Linked DNA regions of Homo sapiens: regions 2 and 3 are each linked to region 1. The links are contacts of gene promoters, found by promoter capture Hi-C in blood cells and fetal thymus (Javierre and others, 2016). All regions are on one chromosome and are shown on one strand. Each heading gives the region's core, a stretch centred on a gene start or on the middle of the fragment in contact. The rest is flanking DNA. Distances are from core to core; before and after follow the strand shown. Region 1 holds the start of WNT8B (Wnt family member 8B). Region 2 has its middle 49 kb from the start of SLF2. Region 3 has its middle 28 kb from the start of SLF2.

Region 1 (2,700 bases), core at 177-2,676:
GCTCTGAAATAGTCTCCTCTCCCTTTTGTCTTTTTGTTCTCATGAGGGGGAGAGAAGAGAGACCTTTTTTTTAACATTGAAATATTTAATTAAAATGCCAATTAAAAATGGACTAATTGGTGGTTCTGCTTATAATCAGAAATGTTGCAAATTATTGTATTAACTTGCAAATAGTTTTATGAAGTTGGCATACTTCCTATCAACACTCCTATAAAGACGGCTACACTCATTTATGATAAAAATGTATTTTCAATTCTCAAAGGAAGCTTATCTCAGCAAAGAAATTTCTTTTCCTGCTTCCTCAACAGTTTATGTAGCAATTGGATTTATATCTTTGTTAAATAGATGGTCAAAATGAGAGCTGATGAAGAGAGAGACTGAGCTCATATCTGAACTGGAGAGAAACTCCGAACACCCTAGCAACCTGCATTCTGTATGTTATTGTGTACTGGTGTATTTGCTAATGAACAGTTGCATGTATAGATAGTTTATGTGGTTTCCAAGAGCTAAATGAGAATGGTGATGATATTCTTTAGCATTTGTGTTTATAATTTACAAAGCACTTTCATATACGTTATCTGATTTTCTGAACAATTTAGAAATATTTGTAAATTGAACAAATTAAATAAATTTCTCGAGACGTTTAGATTTCTAAAATATCTGGTTTCAAACATGTTTGTTAACCCAATGCCTGCTTAGTGGTTCAAATAAAATTTTTTATGTCTAGGAAATGATAATTTGAGCAATTACTTAGAATATCCTGAAAAAAAAAATAAAGTCAGAAAGTACAAAGTAAGATCCCATTGAATTTTGTCTCCAGACTTTACCTCAAGATCAGATTCAACACACGGTAGAACTTGCTTTGAACTACCTTCCTCCTCTCTACAATGCTGACATCAGGATTTCGTGAAAAGGGCTGCTGTCCATTTACCCCCAAATCACTTTGGGGGAATATTTGTGGAATAGCAATTTATAAAAATAGGAACCCCCGCTCCCATCATTTAGTCCTTTATTGGTAGGGGTCCTAAAGATTCACTAAAATCAGCCATAAATTTAGGAAGAGCCCTACCCCATAGAACAGTTTTTCCTAGGAGAGCTATCAAGGCTTCCTACATTTCTGGAAATGAAATGAGCTTTACCCAACACATTACATACACTTACCTATTCCCAGCTCCAGGTAAGAGTCCAGGTTACTTACCAGCTGTGGCTGAGTTGGAGGACACAGGTGAAAAGACAGATGTACACAGAAGGCTTTGAAAGAAACATAATCCTCTGGAGTAACAGCTAGAGAAAATTCCAAAAAACTGGGAGATGGGTAAGCAAGACGGAGAAATATTCTCCTCAGTGCCAGTGGGATGGAATTCTCAAAGCCCAACTTCCTTGGTGTGTAAGCGATCCCAAACAGAGTTAAGGGGAGGTGAAATGGAGCTGCCAAACGTCCAAAGAAGAGATTATCTACTTAATTAAAGTTTTTTTTCCCCTCTAAGTCCTTCAGCCAATCAGAACTCAAGTGCCAGAGAAAGATTGAGTCGATCAAAAGAACACTCCAGGATCCTCCCAGACAAATGCAGAAGAAGGGGACCAGGAGAAAGAGGACAAAGAAAGAAGCGGGGGGAAGAGACATAGCAAATCCCCTCCACATAATCACTGCATGGAGTCTCTTTCCTCCCTCTTGCCTATCCCCTCCCATCACACCACAACCTTTTCCCACCTATGCACACTTACACACACACACACACACACAACACACACACACACACAGCCTGGTCCCCAAAAGGGATCCAGAAAGGACTGTGCTTTCCTGGTTGTCCTCTGTAGCACTTTGAGACTGAATTTGCATTCAGGATAGCATTTTTTTGTTTGTTTTGTTTTTTCAGAAAAAAATACACCAGGTGCAGGTGAACCTCCACCCTCTGATTTGAGAATGTGGGGATGCAGTCCTACCATCTAGTGTATTCTCTGTCTAAGTTAGAAAGGCTAGAAACTTCAGGAAGCCCGATGGTTTTTTCTTCCTTTCAACTTTTTCATCACACAATTACTTACCAAATGCCTATTTTATTCTCAACACCACCCTAGGCATTGTGGAAATTTTTAAAAACCAAAACATGATTTCTGCCCTAACAACATTTACAGCCTAGTAAGGTGACAATAAAATAACGCAGTTTAATAAAGTATTAGAAAGCTACAAACTGCCTATAATAGTGTAGGCTTATTTAGGGGAGGTTTTCTGAAGAAGGTAGAATTTGAGTTTCGAAGAAGGAAAGAGATTTCAATAGGCACACAAAGGTGATCTCAAAATCCCTACTTTCTTAAACTCAGGTGGCGGAGCCAGGAGGGCACCCAGGCCCTCGCTCACACTTCTCTGGGACTCTGCTCCTTCTGTTCCCTAGGGAGGAGGGTGGCCTCAGCCACAGCACTGGGGATCCTCAAAGGGCTCCAGACTGATGTCTATGTAGCCATATAGCCCCATCTTTTAAAAAAAATTTCAGTTAACTTTTGTGGATACATAGTAGGTATATATATTTATGGAGTACATGTACATGAGATATTTTGATACAGGCATACAATGAATGCATGATAATCACATCAGGGTAAATGAGTATCCATCACCTCAAGCATTAATCCTTTGTGTTACAAACAGTCTAATTATACTCTTAGTTACCATGTACAATGAAATTATTATTGACGATAGTCACCCTG
Region 2 (2,971 bases), core at 406-2,905, 400 kb before region 1:
AGGGTCACCTGACTGTCCACCATCTGAGTCCCTGTGTGTCATGTTTTGCTCCGCTGTCTTCCTGGCCCACTTCCTCCACCCCACCTCCCACCTCTGTACTCCTCTGTGGAGTCACTATCCCTCTGGCTAGATATCTCTGAGGCCCAAGCCTGTACCTCCAGGAGAGTCAGAGGTCAAAACAGAGCCAGAGACAGGCAGAAAGAGAGTGAGGTGAGAGAGACACACAGAGACCCTCACCATGGAAGAGGGGGTAGACAGGGGAGGTCAGACAGAGAGACCACAGGCGTGGAGACAGACACAGGTCAGGGCCAGGCAGCAGAGAGGCCCAAGAGGGTGGGATGGCCGCGGATCTGTGGCTGGGGGCTCACACTTAAGCTCACAGAGGCCCAGGCCTGGTGTTAAGGGGGCTATTTCAGACTCCAAAGCTGTTTGGGGTTGGAGGGGTATAGGGACGGGGGCTCCCTATCCTCTGGGCTTGATGGGGCACCTGCCCTGTGACCATACTTTGAGGAGGAGACATGAGTGACAATGGCCTAAGCCTCTGGCCCCCTGACCTGTGCCTGTGGTCCTGAGAGGAGCCAGCCCTCCTATCAGGCTCTGAGAGCCTTGGGCCCCCAGGACAAACAGGGGCAGAGGGAGAGAAAGCTCCTACAGCTTTCTGTGATGTGCACAGCTGCAGCTCTTGTGCCTGCCCTGCACACACACTTACACACACGTGCCACGTGCCACGTGCCAGGCTGGAGGCTTGCCAGTGAGGCTCTCCTGGCTCTGGTCCATGGCCCTGTGCTATGGCCCTAGCTACAGTCTTTATGCCTGGGACTCCTGGTTCCCTAACTTCCTGTTCCCCAAGGGTCTTGCCCCCTTTCGGGCCAATGAGCAGTTTTGACCCCCACTCTCCTATTCCTCAGCTCTCTGGGACTACTGGCCCTCTAGTTCCTTGCAGTTCCCAAGAACCCTGGAGCCCCTGGTTCTTCAACTACCTGGCACACGTCTTCTTGTCCCTGACCTCTGGCCCTGGTTGGGGGTGGGGGCTCCTGACGGGTGGAGGGTAGGAGGGAAGGTGTGAGTCTGTATGTCTGTGTGGAACGGGGGCTGTTTAGATAAACAGATGGCAACAAATGGCATAAAATTATATACCCATAATGTCAGTTCATAACATTTTGTTCGACATACTTGATTTAATCGCTTAGCTGACGATTTGGCTTTTGGGCCCATATGGTGGGGAATGAAGCTGCGTGGCACCCGCTCCAATCTGGCTCTTTTATCACCGAGGCTGGGGGGCGGGGATGGGGGGGGTCAGTCGGGGGAGAAGAAGCGACGCAGATGGAAAGAGAATGAGCTGACAGGAGGGGGCCCAGGGAGGGGGTGACGGCAGGGACTGAAGGGGACTGGACCCTGGCAGGGTGGAGGAGGGCATCTGGAGACAGTGTGGGTGGGGCCGAATCATCCAGGATGGACAGGACTGTCCCCAAGGGACCTGAACCCTATGGCTGACCTCACTGGACTCTGCTAGGGCTGTGGCCCAGATCTGCCTCCATGAGCCCAGTGACCTGACACTGTCTTTTTCTCTCTTCAAAACGAAGACCCAGACCCCCAGGGCTATCCCCATCACTCCTGCCAAACTTAACAATTTGTGTGTGCACACATACGTGCATGCGTGTATGCCTGCCTGCTTGTGCGTATGTGCGAGGACGTCTGGGAGACCAAGAGATGCCTTGTGTGATGAGTTCTGTCTGTGCAAATTGCCTGACTTTCACTCTGAGCAACTGGGATGAGGTGAATCAGTGTTGTTGGGCTGAGATTGTTGCGGTGTGACTGAGTGAATGGGTGGTCCTGATGCACCGGGGCGCGCAGTAGGCATTCCAGCAGTGTGCTCAGTACGTGCCTCACAGAGGTTTCTTCTGGGTGTGAATGCTGGACTGGGGAATGACGCGTGTGTGTGTGTGTGTGTGTGTGTGTGTGTGTGTGTGTGTGTGTCCAGGCCCATCAGCGGACTCACCCTGCACTCTCTGCAAACAAGTCAAGCCCTGTGCAGAGTGCCCCCTCTTAGTTCTCTGGCTGTGGTCCCCAATCGCCATTCACCTGGCCTCTGCTGGGCACTCAGAGAAAAGTCTGGCTCTTCCCCACAGAGATCTCCCTGCTTCCCCATCGCCAGTCCAGCCTGCTTACACCCTGCCCACCCCTCCTCCTGGTCTCAGAACTGCGCCAGCCCCCACAATTGTGGCAAATCTGGGCCTAAATCGGCACCCATCACTCATGTCGGAGTCTCATCTGCCCCCGGCAGGGTGCCACCCGCTGGCTCCAGAAAGGGTGGGGAGCTGGCCCAGGATGGGGGCTGGCACCTGCAGAGGGTTGGGAACCTGCTGTCCTCTCCCCAATCCCCAGGACCCTGTCCCCCAACCCCAGCGTGGGCTTTGTGTGCATGGAGGCTCCTGGGCTGTGCTGGGGGCCTTGTCACCCATCTGCCCTTCTGGAGTCTCTGCCACTGTCTCCCTGTGTCTTCATAAGAGCCTCCTTCCCTCTGTCACTCGTCCTGTCTCTGCCTTTCTCCCACATCTCTGCTTCTCCCTCCCACTGCTTTTCTCTCCTTGCACCTCTGAGGATCTCTGAAGGTGGAGACCAGGATTGGGCTGGGGCTGGGGACCTATGCCAGCCCTCTCCACGTGGGAAGTTCTATTACCATCTTCCCCAATCCAGTGGGATCCTTCAGGAATGTTACCGGGCCTTGTGGCAGGGCTGACCCTGCTGGCTGCTCTCTACCTCCTGCAGATTGTGCCCTCAACACTCTGACTCCCATGGGATGTTGTGGTGTTTTTTTTGTTTGTTTGTTTTTGAGATGGAGTCTTGCTCTGTCACCCAGGCTGGAGTGCAATGGTGCCATCTCGGCTCACTGCAACCTCCACCTCCTGGGTTCAAGCGATTCTCCTGCCTCCACCTCCCAAGTAGCTGGGATTACAGGTGCCCACCACCA
Region 3 (2,992 bases), core at 85-2,584, 420 kb before region 1:
CCTGGGGTGTGATTCAGTTGGAGGGGGGATTATGCCCCAGACATTAGACCATGACTGTTTGGGGATAAGGTCCAATCAGAGAACATAGCATTCAATTGAAATAGCAGGGAATTGGAGGAATTTGGGCTCTCCTGTTAGTTTAGTAAACTGAGAGTCTCTCAAAGATTTGTGTATGGCTCTGGCCTGCGCCTGATAGAAGGCCCTCCCACAACCCGTACCTCCCTTACTCGGTGAGCCATGATTTTTCTTTTTACTTAAAGACCTGGAATTATGAAACAACCGGAGAAACACACGCATTCTTTGACTTATTGCTAGTTGGCCCTTTGGGAGGAATGGCTGAGGTTAGGAAGGTGCCAGAGTTACTCAGAAAGTTCTGGAGGGTACCTACTTCTAACCCACAAATACTTTGCAGACGCAGGCTTGGTTCCTGGGCAGCAGCGGTTAAATTGAAATCTTGATTCTCTTGGTAACTTGATGGCTTAGTTTAGGCCTCAGATTGCTGTTCCATGAACTGCCTTGAAATTTAATCACCCAAATTTATTTCCTAGAGTGTTTTTCACCATCTCCTCCTCTAGGCCCATTAGTCACCATCCCGTGACCTGACAGAGTGATTATTAAAGACCCTGTGGTTCCCTTTCACTAGATTTAGGGGTGTTGGTAACTCTGGAGGCAAGTTCTAACTTGGGTCACAGTTGGGTGGATTTTCCCTCAATTGGTTGTGAATCTTCCCTCAGGGCACCTGGAGGCCTGGGAGAATTACACTGTGTACCTGCCATTTCTTCTTTAAAGCTGGCGAGATGGTTACTGGTGTCTTCTAGGGCTGGTGTTTTCAGGCTAGGGGTTATATTATCCTTTGCCCCTGAGCGCATTACTGACATCTCCCAGCTTCAATTTCCCTTTTGGTAAAAGAGGGATAATGCCCATAAAAGATCGGTGCTGACTGGGCGCGGTGGCTCATGCCTATTATCCCAGCACTTTGGGAGACCGAGGCAGGTGGATCATGAAGTCAGGAAAGCGAGACCATCCTGGCTAACGCAGTGAAACCCTGTCTCTACTAAAAATACACACACACACAAAAAATAGCTGGGCGTGGTGGCGGGCCCCTGTAGTCCCAGCTACTTGGGAGGCTGAAGCAGGAGAATAGCGTGAACCCTGGAGGTGGAGCTTGTAGTGAGCCGAGATCGCGCCACTGCACTCCAGCCTAGGTGATAGAGCGAGACTCTGTCTCAAAAAAAAAAAAAGTCAGTGCTGAGCCTGGCACATCAGCATGCAACGAAATGTTAGCTCCCTTCCCTTCCAGCTGGTACTAGACCTGGGCCTTCCTTTGAGGATCTTGGAAGAGAAATTTTATTAGTCTGATTTAGAAGCATTCTTACAGAACTTTATTTCAAGAATAGTTCATAAATGTTTAACTCTCTCCCCCTTCCAACCTAGTCCTCTTCTAAATAGGGGCTGCAGACCAGGTGCAGTGGTTCTTGCCTGTAATCCCGACACTGGGAGCCTGAGGCAGGTGGATTGCTTGAGCCCAGGAGTTTGAGACCAACCTGGGCAATGTGGCAAAACTCCATCTCTACCAAAAACTACAAAAAAGTTAGCAAGACATGATGGCACGCGCCTATAACCCTAGCTACTCGGGAGGCTGAGGTGGGAGAATCACCTGAGCCAGGGATCTTGAGGCTGCAGTGAGCCATGATGGCATCACCACACTCCAGCCTAGGTGACCAAGCGAGATCTTGTCTCAAAAGAAAAAAAAATGTAAGACAGTGTCTCTCTCCTAGAAACAGTTGTTTCCAGGTGCGAATGAAAGCCAGAATGATCTTGCCTTTTTTTTTTTTTTTTTTTTTTTTTTTTTTTTTTTTTTTTTGAGACAGAGTCTCACTCTGTCGACAGGCTGGAGTGCAGTGGCACGATCTTGGCTCACTGCAACCTCTGCCTCCCGGGTTCAAGCGATTCTCCTGCCTCAGCCTCCTGAGTAGCTGGAACTATAGGCACATGCCACCATGCCCAGCTAATTTTTGTATTTTTAGTAGAGATGGGTTTTCACCATGTTAGCCAGGATGGTCTCAATCTCTTGACCTCGTGATCCACCCGCCTTGGGCTCCCAAAGTGCTGGGATTACAGGTGTGAGCCAGTACGCCCGGCTGATCTTGCCATTTTAAAAGAGAAGCCAGATACCAGCATGTATGATGAAAAGTCTCAAATTTTACATGTTTTCAATTAATTAAAAAATGTAAAATATTGGATAGGTAAAACACAGTATGGCTTCCCACTGGTTAGGATGGCAGTGGGAAGGCTTTGCCCTCGGCAGGCTCTGGATACAGTGTTCTTGTTTTTGTGGCCACCCCCTTCCCCACCCCAAGGGCTGGGCCTTCCTACTGTCTTCTTGGTTGGCCTCTCAAGGTAACTACGTGAGCCTTCTCCTCTCCTGCAGACATGTTGGGCCAGTTAAAGGTTATTCTGTAGAAATCTCAACCAACAAGTCAAAAGATGAGTTTCCTGCTCTTAATAGATAATTTTTATTGGTTTTGCAATAAACGTATGAAATAGAAACAATAGCAATAAACCAGCTCAACAAGAAATCGAAAGGCGCAGGCCCCCAAAGCCCTTCCCGCCTCTTGTTAATGAGTCTCTAATTTATAGACCGGCTTGCAGGCCCACTTTTCTTTTGCCAAGCTTTGCAAACTTTTCCATCTTGGAGGCCCAGGTACTCTGGGGGCTTCTGTGCTCATTTCCACATAGTGGTTGTAATGGAAGTGGTTGTCATGCCAGAAGTGGTGGGGTGGCACTGCCTTGGGGTTTGGGGCCTGAGCCCAACCTTGTCTCCTTAAGGGGACTTGAGGGTCTGTCCCCTTTGATTTTGTTTATCAATGGAGGGCAGAAAAGGAGAGTGACCAGGATAAAAACTCATGCTGAAATGGCCGAGGGCTGTAAGTTTAAATTTTGGAGAGCACAGAGGCCAGGGAGTGGGCACAAAAAGCATGCAGAGGCTGAG

The links. Contacts are between HindIII fragments. The CHiCAGO score rates a contact against its expected background, and 5 or more counts as called.
Region 2: a fragment that was not itself captured here is called in contact with the fragment with the promoter of WNT8B in region 1 in 1 of 17 cell types (endothelial precursors); the score reaches 6.7 in endothelial precursors.
Region 3: a fragment that was not itself captured here is called in contact with the fragment with the promoter of WNT8B in region 1 in 1 of 17 cell types (M0 macrophages); the score reaches 5.1 in M0 macrophages.

The regions. Positions count from the first base shown.
Region 1 is chr10:100,461,735-100,464,434 of GRCh38, reverse strand. It overlaps WNT8B (Wnt family member 8B), which reads right to left and starts at 1,426. Exons shown (of 6, transcript NM_003393.4): 1 at 1,199-1,426. The coding sequence starts at 1,266. The HindIII fragment of the contact is 5,936 bases long and covers 269-2,700 here.
Region 2 is chr10:100,862,937-100,865,907 of GRCh38, reverse strand. No RefSeq gene overlaps it. Among named protein-coding and RNA genes, the nearest start is that of SLF2, 49 kb to the left of the region's middle. The HindIII fragment of the contact is 3,474 bases long and covers 1-2,971 here.
Region 3 is chr10:100,883,888-100,886,879 of GRCh38, reverse strand. No RefSeq gene overlaps it. Among named protein-coding and RNA genes, the nearest start is that of SLF2, 28 kb to the left of the region's middle. The HindIII fragment of the contact is 2,683 bases long and covers 1-2,675 here.